Regions from separate parts of the Homo sapiens genome. Here region 1 is linked to region 2. Evidence: promoter capture Hi-C in human tissues and cell types (Jung and others, 2019). All regions are on one chromosome and are shown on one strand. Each heading gives the region's core, a stretch centred on a gene start or on the middle of the fragment in contact. The rest is flanking DNA. Distances are from core to core; before and after follow the strand shown. Region 1 has its middle 53 kb from the start of TPD52L1. Region 2 holds the start of HINT3 (histidine triad nucleotide binding protein 3).

What was found. The method cuts DNA at HindIII sites, captures the fragments that hold promoters and counts their contacts. A contact is called where the count stands out against the background at its distance.
Region 1: a fragment that was not itself captured here is called in contact with the fragment with the promoter of HINT3 in region 2 in 1 of the 25 tissues and cell types used here (hippocampus).

What each region holds. Positions count from the first base shown.
Region 1 is chr6:125,096,991-125,104,064 of GRCh38, forward strand. No RefSeq gene overlaps it. Among named protein-coding and RNA genes, the nearest start is that of TPD52L1, 53 kb to the right of the region's middle. The HindIII fragment of the contact is 8,655 bases long and covers 1-7,074 here.
Region 2 is chr6:125,951,904-125,959,314 of GRCh38, forward strand. HINT3 (histidine triad nucleotide binding protein 3) reads left to right here and starts at 4,867. Exons shown (of 5, transcript NM_138571.5): 1 at 4,867-5,275. The coding sequence starts at 5,075. RefSeq lists enhancers at 4,880-4,979, 6,040-6,089 and a silencer at 5,150-5,369. The HindIII fragment of the contact is 11,405 bases long and covers 1-6,993 here.

The DNA.
Region 1 (7,074 bases), core at 1,674-4,173, 860 kb before region 2:
GGAAAGTGATAGATAGTGGGGGTAAAAGGGCATGGGCTTCTGGGAAGGTAAAGTTTGAGCAAAAGTATGAGAGGTGAGAGAGCTGTACTGATGAGCTAACAGGGCATTCTAGGCAAAGCAAACAGCAGAGACAAGGGCTCAGAAAGGCAAGACTCCAGAGCAGCTGGAATAGAAGGAGAGGAGATGAGTATAAACAGAGAGGTGGGGGCATTGCTGCAAATGTAGGTGGGTAACTGTAGTGCATTTGCATTCAGTTTGAATGAGACGAAAAGTCCACTGAAGTTTGTAGACAGAAGGGTGCTATGGCCATCCCTAGGTCCCAACAGGATCATTCCGGCTGCTGCAATGAGACTAGAGTGAAGCAAATGGACAAAAGAAAAAGGTACAGATCAGCTGGCCAGAAGGACAGCTCCAAAATGAATAATGGCCCTATTCTTCTTCACACAGCTGGACTTCTCCCCATCTTTGCTAATGAAAACCAAATCACTTCCTTGGTAATAGTTTACTTTTTCTCTGTATTCATTCAATAAATAGCTATTGAGCACCCATAGGAGGATGCCCATGTTATCATGGATCCCCAAAAGAGAATGGCATATCTCTATGTGAGAGTCAAACTCACAATTTTTTTCAAAATTCTCAAAAGTTGGTCCAGAAAAAAAGTTACACAGCTATTTTACGCTTGGCCAAAAATATTTTAGTGGACTTCGGCATTCAGACCTTCAGATATGTAAGGGTGAGAATTGCAGCCTTTGGGGCATGGATATGAGGTGCCCAAGACAAAAACCTGGAGTTCGACCTGTCTGGCTATCTTTCACCCAACCTAGCTCAATCTGTCATTATATCTCCTAAATAACCTCTCTATTCACACCTTCACCCTTTAATTCAGATTGTCCTTCTTATTCAGATAATGGCAAGCATTGGGATTCTTGCCTTCAGGCTTCCCCTCTGTTTTGCCCATGCCTGTGATGTGACTGGCCATAGGCACTGTCCACTGCATCCTTCACAGTGCTATTAGGGTGATGCTACAAAAACACAATCTGATTTTATCACTTCTGTCTCAGGATGGGGTTTTCTGAGAAGCAGATTCCTAGATGGAAATTTGCATGCAGGAGGCTTATTGCTAAGGTTTACTGCACATCTATGAAGGAGTGAAATAAACAGGATTGGGCAGGGAGAGAAACTAGACTGCAATGAAGTCCCCACACAGGCCTGAGCTCATCAGCCATAACCTATCAGCCTGAAGCTGGGAAGGCTCTGCAGAGAGTTGTCCCAAATTGAAATGAGAGTAAGCCTTAACACTCTGCATAGATCAGTCATTGAATGGGAGCTGCCCTTGGAAGCATGACTTTGGGAGGAGGTGACCCTTTCAGCTGAGAACACTCCAGAGTGGGTTCAGCTTAGAACTGTCAGTCATCAACACTCTCAGGCTGGGCAGTGAACGAATCAGCCCCCGGAGTGGGTGGGTGGGATGAGACAGAGTAGCTTGGGGCAGGAGGAGAGGTGTGGGGAAAGGTGAGAGGTGGAGGTGAAACCTGGATAGCACGTTCCAAGTTAACCTCTCCAGTCCTTGCTCACTGTTGAGACATTGGGATCCCCCCCAACCCCCGACATTAAACAGAACTCTTCCTTCCACCATGCTCTATTAATATAATCACCAACAGATTGGTTATTTATTTTTGCTTATATTATGCATGAGGCCCTCTAGCAAGAACGTGAATTCCATGAGGTCACGGATCATGTTCTATTCATTTTTGGGTCCCCTCCACCGTCTATGGTAACTGGCAGGTACATCATAGGCATTGAAACGTTTGAGGAACAAATTACAAAACTATAAAACAAAAAAGTTTTATAAGAGACGTGCCCAAGACGCCTCAACTTCAGAATGGTGAAGCCAGGGATTCCAACTGGGTCTCCCTTCTCCAGAGTTGTAAGTGCACTAGGTTAGAATCAGCGGAAGAGTGGGAAATGGGAAGAACACGAAGCTGGAAATGGGAAACCTTAGTTCCAGCCTTGGTTTTCATCCTCCAACTGGCATGCTAACTTGCCCTCTCTGGGCTTCCTAGGTCTCTTATTCCTTATATTGGAGGTGTTGTTATGGATAATTTCAAAACAAATCTTTATCTAGCGCCTACTATGCGTTCACATAGTCTGTTCACGTGTATGTAATCCTTACAACCCCTCTGTGGTGTTATTAGTATCCTCGTTTTATAAACAATGTGGGAAAGAAAACAACAAAGCTAAGCCCAGCTAAACTAAAAAATAAAAAATAAAAAATACAGTTCAATGGTTTGTTTGAGGTCACATAGCAAAGGCTCAACTCAAACTCAGGTCTCCTGCTTGCCAGTCTGCGGTTCCTGCCATGGGGAAATTCTGTTATCTTTGAAGAAAATAATAAGTAAGGGAAGAGAGAGATGCCCTTTCACAACTGCAAAATTCTCTCCTCCCCAGTTTCCAGCTCCCATCATCAACAAAGAAAACCACGAAAACAAAAACAAATCCGGATTGCCTTTGTCCACAGTATAGAGGGCGGGGGCGGGGGCGGGGGCGAGGGCGAAGGCGAGGGCGTCGGCGGGGCTGCAGCCTCCACGCAGAGACCACTGATGGCTCCGCGCCGCTCAGTTGATCCCTTCCCACTGCACGGAGCGGGAGACTAAAGGCCCACTGCCCATGGCTGCGAAAACCTTCCTTCGGGAACGCGGAGCTAGTGCACGGGGGCATGTTCTTCCCCCGCAGCCCTGGCAAGCAGAGGCCGGCGGCCTGTGGCGCGGGGCAGTTGTGCTGGCTGCCGGGCGGGGCTGCTCTGGGTCTGGGTGCACGGAGAGGAGCGCGGAGTGAAGCGCACGGTGCACACTGCGGGGCGCTGCTTGTCACCTCCCTGCCCCTCCCTCTGCCCTCCCCCGCTGTCCGGAGCACAGTCCCGGGAGGGCGGATGTCCCCTGGGAAGATGCGCGAGGAGAGCGACTGGGAGGCAGCTAGCAGCACCTGCGTGTGGGCAACACGACCCGAGGCTGTCTCCATTGCCTGCGTGCTGAAAGCATAAAAGCTTTTTTTTTTCTTTTTTTGAGGAAGTAAATGTGTAAATTAAATTACTTTGGTGGGGGTTAGAAAACAGTTTTCCTCAGTGTCATGGTGACATCTTCCATCTGCCAGTTCACTTTTCATAAACCTGCTGATACATTTTCTACATCTCATTAAAAAGGTAACCCAAAAGAAAAGTAACGGGGGGAGAAGGAGATGAAAGGGAGAGAGAAAGGAAAGACAAAACGAAGAGAAAGTTAAAAAAAATAGACTAGGAAAGAGGGCCCACCAGGAACCAGGAGGAGCCCTGGGGATGGGGTCGGGACGAAAGCTGGCAAGAATTTCGGCTGAGTTCCTTTAACAAGTAGAAACGTGCGGGGTTGTGTGCGATTTTCCTGGAAAATCCTCACAACCCTATGAGATAAACATTATTCCCATTTCAGAGATGAGGAAAGTGAAGTCAGGACAGAGTTGCATCATCAATCTGATTTGAATACCAAGGGCAAGTTTTTTCCCACTACATCAGGGTATCCTGATCCGTTTTAAACTATTAGAATCACCGTTGTTGCATTATTTATTAGCCTTGACAGAGACTGAATAACCTCCCCCATCACAGAGTCTGCAAGGACAGAGGTGTGATCTAAACCTGGGCCTGGGAGCCCTGAGCTATCAAGCTAGACTGCTTCTCAGAGCCCTTCTCTTGTTAACCAGGGACTCTGAGGCAGGGTACCCAAACTGTCCTTTGACATCTGCAACTCTAAAAGAGTAATTGGAAATTGGGGAATAATAACACAACAGATAGAAGTTTTTGTTCCCATCAAATGAGACAGTGTATATGAAAGTACATAGCATAATACCAGTTATTTTCTTTCTGACATTCAATTCATTGAAAGTTTATTCAACATTACTTATTCAGTTTATTAGTAGTAGTAGTAGTAGTAAGCATGTTTAGGGCCCCTCCTGTGTTATTAGACATACCCTGTATGTGGATCTTGGTGAAGGCTGGGCTCCAATCCTGGTCTTGTGGAGAGTACTAGGCAAAGATTTAGGACAAATGGATTCCTATCTTGAATTCTTACATTAATTTGCTCTGTGATATTGGCATAGCCACATACCTTCCCAGACTTTGGTCTAAAATCAAGGAGTGCAAGGGTAGTCTCTAAGATCTCTTTCAGCAATGAAATGTGGGTCCATGTAACCTATATTTAAAGTTAGTTCCAACTGTTCAGTTCTATTATTTCTGTAATCCAGACAGGCCCTGTCAAGCAGCTGTGCATCTGCATACTCCCATAGGCTGGGTCTCTACCTCCTCCTCCTCCTCCTCCTCCTCCTCCTCCTCCTCCTCCTAACTCCTACTTCTCCATCGTCCTCAGCCCCAGCATTTTCTCCTGCTAGATGCCATCCTGCCTGTACCATCCAGGGTGCATCACCATGGCCCCCTCTGTTAAGGACTCTTTGTAAATCACCACTGAGCAAGGCACTTGTATTAGTTTTCTAGGGTAGAAGTAGCAAAATACCACAAACTGGGTGGGTTACAACAACAAACTTAATTCTCTCATAGAGAGGCCTGAAGTCTGAAATCAAAGTGTCAGCAGCACTGTTTCCTTCTGGAGGCTCTGAAGGAGAATCTGTTTTTTGTCTCTCTCCTCGCTTCTGGTGGTTGCCAGCAATCCTTGGCATTCTTTGACTTGCTGTATCTTCACTTCACTTCAGTCATTGGATATAGGACCCAACCTTATCCAGTGTCATCTTTGGGGCAGAAATGTGTTCTCTCTAAATTCATATGTTGAAGTCCTAATCCCCACAGCCTCAGGCTGTGACTGTATTTGGAGATAGAATCTTGACACAGGGAACTAAGTAAGGTAGAATGAGGTCATACGGGTGGGCCCTAACCCAATATGACTGGCATCCTCATAAGAGGAGATTGGGACACAGGCATACACAGAGGAAAGTTCATGCTGAAGACATAAAGAAAAGATGGCCAACTGCAAGCCAAGGAGAGAGGCCTCAGAGGAAATCAACCCTGTTTACACCTTGATCTTAGACTTCTAGCCTCCAGAACTGTGAGAAAATAACTTTCTATTGTTTAAGTCCCTCCCACTCCAGGTCTGTGGTACCTTGTTATGACAGCCCTAACAAAGGAATACAGACCTTCACTTAAATACTACAATTACATCCACAAACACCCTATTTCAAATAAAGTCACATTCTGAGGTTCCAAGAGGACATTAACTTTTGGGAAGACACCATTCAACCTATTACAGCACTTTTCACAGTTTCCTTCAGGTCTTTGTGTTCCTTCAAGGCAGGGACAATTATCCCCAACAGGGCACAAGTCCTGGCCCTTAATATGTGCTCTACAAAGGGAGAAGGAAGAAAGGAAGTAAAAAGTAAAAGAAAAGAAAGAGAGTAATAACAGAAAAGAGAGAGGAAGGAAAAGGGAAAAAAAAGGAAGGAAAGCTGCATGCTTTCCTAGTTTCCTCGTTTCAATTACATCCTTCAAAACAAAATACTGTTCTTCTTGAGCAAAAGATTTCTTAAAGCGTCTTTGAATTTCTGTGTGTATGCAATTTACTTTGAAACATGCAAAGGAAAGAAATAAGGGAAACGTGATAATATCCTGTTGCCTCATTGCTGGCCCTGAAAAACACTTCCAAGGGGTTGCCCAATTAAATATAATACACTCAGTTAAATTTTAATTTCAGATAGACAAGCAGTAATTTTTAGTATAAGTATGTCCTAAATGTGATATATATAAGTGTGTGTGTACATATATGTGTGTGTGTATGTGTGTGTATATATATATACACACATATATATATATACACATGTACACTAGACATGATAGAAAGAACATAGACATTGGGCCCATACAAATTTAGGCTCCAGTTTTTACTACCTTTTAGCTCAGGGACCTGGGGCAAGTTACTTAATCTCTTTGTATGTCAGATTCTTCATCTATAAAATTATAATAGACCTATGGGAAAGGGTTGTTGGGACTTTAAAATGTCTGGTATGTGCTGCTTCCGTAACTAGAACAGTGTCTAACACATAGTAATCAATGACTCAACAAATATTTTTGAAGGAATGAAAGAACACATTCCCTTCTTCCCTATATGGACTTCCCTGGAGGATTGGGACAGCCAACCCAACAATAGCAGGGGCCCTAGGACAGGCCACAGCACAGTCCAGGGAGCACCCCAGCCTTCCATGGTAGAAAACCCACTCCACATCCACTGTTCCTCGGAATAATCTGGTTTTAGGATGCAGGGGACATACAACCAATTTGATACAGGCAGAGTTTTCCTTCTAGAAAATGTGTGTGTTTTTATTACAGAACAAAGGCGACAACATCTTACACTAAAATTCAAAAGTCTGTAAACCTTAGAGAACCTATTTCCATATGTAATGCATTGAATTTAAAGGCACACTCCTATTTGTGAAGGTGATTCTAACTAATTTAAATGGACCTAAATAGTTTTTAAATAGCAATATAAGCAGATGCTATCTTATTAGAAAATCATTTGAGCAGCACATTTATTTCCTAGAGCTGGAATCAAATCGTTCTATCTCCTTCTACAGTATGCATTTTTATGTAATCAATTGGTAATAGTGAAAAATATCTTAAAAGTGCATTGTTTCTTGACAGAAGGCTATTTCTTTTCAGAAATAAAAATCATTGTGAAAGAAGATATTTATTCTTAATGCTACAACTGAAACTAGGGGTTTTGTTATTGACTTGCTTCCTAATCAAGAAACTTCCATCATATAAATAAGGTGGTCTGGGTAGTGAAATGAGCATTGATTCAGGAGTCGAAAAACCTGGTTTCTGTGCCTCCTCCTGGGTGCTGCAGCCTCGGACCAGGTGCTCAACCCTGGAGCCAAATTTCCTTCCCTTGACTATGAGGGGAACCAGCTCTCTCATATACTTATACCATATTATATAACCAATAATATGCAATAAAATCAAACTACAGCAATTATAATCCTCTTTTACAATTTTATAAAGTTAAATTTTGCTTTAACAACTATAAAATGGGAATAAGTGTACTTTGG
Region 2 (7,411 bases), core at 3,617-6,116:
AATTTCTTTATGGATTGGCTAAGAGTAGTTAAAGAGAAGTGTCAGGTATGATTTCAAAGTTTCTGTCCTGAGCAGTTGGAGGAATGAAGTTTCCCTCAGCTGAGATGGTAGCAGGTTTTGGTGGGGTGAAAGAGGAGCTCTCCCCATAGTAGCTCATTCAGGCTAATTTATAACATTTATTAAACATGGGTATGGGGTGGTTTAGTAGGCAGTTGGATATTTGAGTCTGAAGTTCAGGGGAGAGGTCTATATTACAGATTTAAATTTTGGAGTTATTGGCAAATATATGGTATTTAAAGCCACGGATTGCATGAGACGACCAAGAAAGTGAGTGCAGCTAAAGAGAAGAGAACCTAGGACCAAAGCCCTTAAATGATGAGAGAGGTTTGGAAGAAGAGGAAGTAGCACAGGAATCTGAGAAGAAACAGCCAGTGAAGTAGGAGGAAAGCAAACAAAAAAAAAGTATGGTGTCCAGGAAATCAAGAGGGGAAAAGTTTGTCAAGGGAGAGGGAATGACCAACTGTTGCTGAAAAGATGAGGACTGAGAAGTGACCATTAGATTTAGTAATATAGTTACTGATGATAACAGTAGTTTGGACCAATTGGTGGCACTAAAAGTCTGACAGGAGGCAGTGTGAGAGAGAAAAGAAGACAGATTGGGAAGCAAACAGATACCTTTTTTGAGGAGTTTTGTTGCAAAGAGGAGCAGAAAAATAGATCCATGAGTGATGGGAAAAGCAATGTTCAAAGCTGGTTCTTAGAGTGTGTTACTGATAACAATAAGATTTATATCCATATCCTAAATTACTTTCAAACAAGTAATTTGATGTGTCATTCTGATGGTGGCAGGAGGCAGACAGGTTCCTAGGTGGGAAGGGGCAGGTCCCGGGTGAAACCTCAACTTCAAGCCAGTGACAAGCCAGCTGGGCCTGGGCTTCCAGCTCCGGGTGAAATCCATGGCCTGGAGTGAAGGCTACCCACTACAGATCTCCCTGCTGAGAGCTGTTCAGTTGCCCAGTAAAGCTCTTCTCCACCTTGCTCACCCTCCAGTTGTCCACCTAACCTCATTCTTCCTGGATGTGGGACAAGAACCTGGGACCTGACAAATGGCAGGAGCAAAAGGAGCTGTAACACTTTCCTGGCCAGTTCATTGAGCTGCGGGTGGGAGCTAAAAGGGGCTATAACACTTTCCTGGCCAGCTTGCTGAGCTGCAGGCGGTGGCATGGTACTGGCTGCAGGAGTGAAACGTAACAACCCTTCTGGGGGCCCAGACCTTGGGAATCCCTGTGCCAGAGCTGTAACACTGTAGCCTTCCTGCCCTCTGCTGGTGCCAGGTGGCCACCCCATGCAACAAGAAGCAGTGGAGGGGCAGGGCCAGCCCAGGAGTCATGGGCCAGAGCAGGGCAATGGGACTGAAAGAGTCTTTACACAAATCAGCTGAAACACACTCCCCAACCCCGAACATGAACCCCTACTTGCTGCGCTGCAGTAGATGTGAAGGAGAGAAGAGCTGTGGCCCTTCTTGGAGCCCAGATCTTGGAGCTCCCTGAGCCAGGGCTGTGACATACTGTAACACCCTCTTTGGGGCTTTGTGGTTCCTGGCATCTCTGAGCTTTCCAGCATCACCACATTTCCCTCATCCAGATGCTGGTGCCCGCAGTGGAAGCCGCTTGCGGTACGTCTGGTCCAGCCGCAACCTCATACAGAGTCAGCACCTGTGCGGGTGCCTGGAGCTGCCTGCCCCTCCGCAGCAGCCAGCATGCCTGGCTGTGTGCAGTGGCCAAACAGCGTGCTTGCACACACACCCCTCGCTGCTCTGCACCTGGCTTGCCTTTGGCAGGTGTGGGATCCAAGGCTGGTTGTGTGAGCTGAGCGCAGCCTGCTGGTCCGAGTGGGTGGAACAAGCCCAGTGGGCATGAGCAAAACTCAAGCAGAGGGGCTGCTGGCCACAGGGGTTTCCAGCTGGTGAAGCACCACCTGAAGCATCGGTGACAACTCTACATGCAACATGATCACGCATTAGGCATCATTATTATCCCCATTTTATAGATGAATGAACAGAAAACCTCCGCACAGGAAGATAAATAATTTGTGTCTCAGCAGAGAAAGGAAAATAACATAGCCCAAGTTTTTGCAGATGGTAAGTTGTAGAGTAGTCTGACTCCAGAGCCTGCTCTGAAGCAGGGCTCCTGCTAGCCCATATGGTAGCCCTGTGAAGTTAGCCAATAGCACCTGATTTCACAAGCAGATTTTAAGTTAGTATATTGTTATGGAACTGGAATGGCTGTTCCCCAGGAGGGTTATCCAGAACACCCACTGGCAGTAGTCCTGCCTATGTACATACAAGTGCCTGTATTTTTGCCTGCTTCCACACAGGACACATCGTCTACACAATTTTCAAGTACTTCATGTTGCTCCCCTCACTTCCAAAGTGGGAAAATTATCAAGTTCAAAGCTGAGGAATGAGAAGCAAGCCTTGGAAAGTCCCAGGTAAGTGAGAGAAGAAATCTCAGGTGTCACTAGGAGTGCAGTCAGAACAGATGCAACTTATGCTGGTGTGTGTGCTAGTGTGTAAGTGAATGGTCTCCTAACTGTATGTGTGTGGCCATATGCACCCAATGGGGGTTTATATACAAATCAGCTTTCCACCGCTCCAGAACTTAGCCTGGAATCTCCAGTTCTGTATGTGCTTTTCCATAAGTTAATACATGTGTATGATATGAATCAGCACACTCTTATCTGTAGTATCCTTGCACACTGTGAAACCTGAACACTCTCATGCTGTGACCTTGCTCCTAACCATTCTTCATTAGAAAATTGTTAAATGTCTACCTCCATGCAAAGCACTGTGTTGCAGGATTATTTAGGAATCAGAAAGACCGAGGGGTTGAGGAGGATTTATTATTTAGGTGCACCGGCACAGTCAGATTAACATCCGCTGAGCCCCGAACAAAGGGTCAGGTTACCTTTTAAGCATTTCGTGGGCAGGGGGCAGTTGGGGGGAGATCTGTGCAGGGGGAAGCATATTACAGAAGTAAGAAAAATGACAGTTATTTAATTGAGATATGCATTACATAATTTCTTACTTTTCAAGGAAAAACATATTTTATGACTTGAGTTTATCTGTCTAGTGACTTTGCAGCTGCACAGCTAGAGAAACAGGGTCTTCACAATGCCTGGGAAAGGGAGAGATAAGGCTCACTAGCCACAGATAGAAAAACAGGCAGTTAATTTTTAAAGGACTCTACCTCTTTCTCCTCCTCAGGGGGAACTGGGTTTTCTTACATACAACTGAGTTTTTGCTTACATATTCTTTAATTCCTGTTCCAACTGTACTAGGCATTATGGAAGATTCACACACCCAATCTTGTTGCCAAGAAACATAATTCCTAGCAGGATAAATAAGTACATAAATAGCTATAAGATACAAAGAGACAAATCCTACAAGAGAAATATTGAAAACCTGTTATATGAATTTGCAAGAGGATGTGCTTATGTCAGTTTGGCTAAAGAAAATTTCATGAAGGAGGTAGCATTGGAGGGGTGGCTTGGAAGGTAGAATTTGGAGTGAAGAGATGGAAACAAGAATATTTGAGAGAGAACTGTGTGAATAAAAGCAGTGATGTGAAGGTGTAGTACAGGCATGGAAATTGTGAATACTAAAATTTGGCAAAACTCTAATGTATTGATTCTGAACTCTGCTTTGGGGTGCTGAAAGGCAGTGAAGCTATTGTAGTGGTTCCCCAAACTACGGGCCAACTACAAAAAGGAATGAAAAATGTCTTGAATGTATATGTACAACAATTCAAAACACATACAACCACTTTTTATTACAACATAAATCCATTAAAAATCATTACTGAATTCCCAATTTGTTATGTATTTTCTAAATCAGCAAATACCAAGGGTGTAACTACTATAGTGAGCTAGTCCAACAAATTTTTTGGTGTTAAAAAAGGAGTGCTGTATGTCAAAAAGGTTGGTGGGTTTTGGAGTTAGACAAACCTTGATCTTAAACTCTGTCACTATTAATTAGTTGTGTGGGACTGGGCAACTCTGAGTTTGGTCCTTCATCTCTAGAGCGGTGGTTATAAAACCAACCTTGCGTTTTTTGACAATTAGAGAAATATATGGCATGTTTTAGATGCTCAGCAAGTGGGAAGTATCACAAAACGAAAAGCTGAGGTCAAATCAGAGTCCACCTTGAACACCAAGCTAAGGAACTGGTACTTTTTCTTTGAGCACATAGTTACAGAAGGTTTTGTCTGAGTGACAGGAAAATCAATAAGTAAGTTAGAAGGTGATTGCGTTGGTCTAGGTGAGGCATTATGAGGCACTGGCATTGAATTTCTGGGATATTTCAGAGTATTGACTATAGGACTCCACATCTACTTGTATATGAGGAATGTGAGATTAAAAAAAAGGTCGCTAGTTTGATCTAACTGTGCTGTTAACAACAATAAAAAGTCAACAGAGATGTAAAGGTCAGTTTTGGACATTTTGAGTTTAAACTCCTACAATTATCGTGGCTGAAAAAGCAGCAAACATGATGTCTGTTGAAAACAAGGCTTTAGGAATTTTGCTCATTCTTTAAAAACCTACGAATTTTAAAAATCAAACTTTAAAAAACTTTTTGTTTTTTTTTTTAAAAAAACGGCAGCGTAATACAATATTTGGACACGCTATACTATGGGCTTTGAAGAACGCCTGTCCAGAACACCCAACAAGCTCCATTATGTCAAACGCTCCCGCGCCTCTGTGATGTCACCACGACGCGCTGGGCGCTCTGCGACTTGGCAGACGTCGTGCGTCATTACCAACGAGGCGCAGGGGTCAGGACGACTCTCGGCAGCGCCATTGCGCGCCCTCTAGTGGCAGCCGGTTTTGAGGCCGGCCTCCGGCTTTGAAGTTCCTCACCGCGTCTCCTTCCCTCTCCCCAAAGCCTGGATCACCGCCCAGCGTCAGGCGAGGGGCGACGTCTCGAGGTAAAACGGAGGAGGTGCGGGACGCGGAGACTGCGCGGGCCCGGTAGCCCTGGAGAGGCCGAGGCTCTAGGCCGCGAGGGGCGGGTGCAATGGCGGAGGAACAGGTGAACCGCAGCGCCGGCCTGGCCCCCGACTGTGAGGCCTCGGCGACTGCAGAAACTACGGTTTCCTCAGTGGGGACCTGTGAAGCCGCTGGCAAGTCACCAGAGCCCAAGGACTACGACAGCACCTGCGTGTTCTGCCGGATCGCGGGGCGGCAGGACCCGGGCACCGAACTCCTGCACTGCGAGGTGGGCGGCGACGCGCGGCCGGGGGTGGGTGAGGACCTGGCCGCCCCTCGGAGCTCCGGCAGGGAGGCCTCGCCGTTGTGGAGCGGGTGCAGAGGATCCCGATCGCTACTCAGCTCGCAGAGGCAGGGCCGCTCTGTGTGGATGGGGCTCGGGGAAGCTGGGGATACGCCCACTACGGGCCTTTCTGCAGGGTCCGGGTGCTGATGACAGACTCACTCCTAGGGGACTGACAGGCAGTGGCTCCAGCGGTATCTTTGCTGTTCCCAGGGGCAAAGAGTGAATGACAGGGCCGAATGCTTTGGCCTATGTTTGCAGGTACCCAGGTAGTTGGTACAAATAACATTTTGTGGCCTCTGCTTTTATTACAAGGATTCTTCTCCACCTTCAAGATACTGATTTTAAATCCTGCACACTCTAATACCGATACTGATGAGAAAACTAGTAGAAAATAGGTAATGATAATTGTGGAAAGCTGTTTGTTAGATTGGCAGAAAATAGGCTGGAGGGAGTGGGTCTGAGGTCAAACTATTATTGAATTGCCTCTGAATTCCACTGTCAGTTGGGATGCGTGGACATTTTCAGAGCATGAAGACTTTGCCCAGATATTTTTAAACGGATAATCTGGCACACACTTTATTCTGTTGGTTTTACTTGTCCATATAGAAACAACTTTTTGAGAGAATTAGCTCCAAAGATTGTGTCTTTTGTAGTAAACATTCCTTTATTTTTTAAAAAATAAATATAATTCCTTCTAAGCACCTTGTTTTGGAGGTTTTTGAGCAAGATAAGGGACAGTCTGTGTCCCGATTTTACAATCTAAAGGGCGGAATGTATACAGAGGAGGTAGCCAGTTACAATGCCTCGTGCTGTGGTCAGGTGATTTTACAGTATTTTGTAAGCTTGTGGGAGGAGCATCTAACCCAGCTCTGAAGAATTAGGGAAGGCTTTCCAGAGGAAATGAGACATGAAGAAATAAGTAGGAGTTGATCAGATGAGGAAATGGAGAGAATAATGTCCCAGGTTGAGAGACCCCCCGAGAGGTTCAGTTTGTGTGATAGAAAAACTAACAGAAATTGTCTAACTAGTGCATAGAGTTTGAGAGGATGAAAGGCGAGGCTGGAGAGGTAAACAAGGGACCAGATTATTAAGTGTGTTGGAAGTCATGTGAAGGAATTTGTCTTTATCTGAAGAGCAAAGTGAAACTTCACAATGTTTAATGGTGGGTTGGGAGGAAGATGTTGCGGAGTTATAGGAAGGGGGTTGATCTTTGAAAGGTCATTCTGGCATCATTGTGGAGAATGATTTGGAGGAGACCAGTCTGGAGGTATGGAGACCCGTTAGAAGGCTAGTAGATTAATCTACCCTGATGATGGCCTGAAATGAGAATGTGGTAGAGGAGATTATGAAAAGTATATCAATTTAAGGGATACAGTATTCAGGAGGTAAAACAGGGAGGACTTGATGGATACAGGTCAGTGATTCTCAACTGGGGGCAATTTTGCCCTCCCAGGGTACATTTTGCAATGTATTGAGATACTTTTGATTGTAACAACTTCTGGCACTTCTAGGGGTTGCTTCTGGGACCTAAATAATGGATAAAAGCCAGGGTTGCTATTAACATGGTACAGTGCACAGGACAGCACCCCCACCACCCCATCAACACACACACATAAAACAGGCTTATCCAGCCCTCAAAATGTCAGAAGTGCCAAGGTTTAGAAACCCTGATTTAGATATAAGAGGATAAGGAAATGAAAGAGGGTGAAGTCAAAGATGATTTCCAGGTTTCTGGCTAGGGTAAACTAGTAGTGGTGGTACCATTTCATTAAGCTCGGGAACACAGGAGGAGAAAAGATGGCCAGGGGAGTGGTGGGAGGTAGCAAAGCGATGAGTTGAGCTATGGAGTTGTGGAGTTTGAGGTGAGTTTGAGGCATCTAAGTAGAGATGTCTTTTAAATGGTTGGATAGTCTAGCACTCTGTAGAGGGATCTGTATCTCTAACCCAGATTACAGGAACTGTCGGTTTATAGATGGAAACTGAAAAAGAAGGGAAGCGATGAGATCACCCATGAGGTAAAAAGTGAAGGGGAGGCCTACACAGAACTCTGAAGAACACTAACATCATAAGGGACAGACA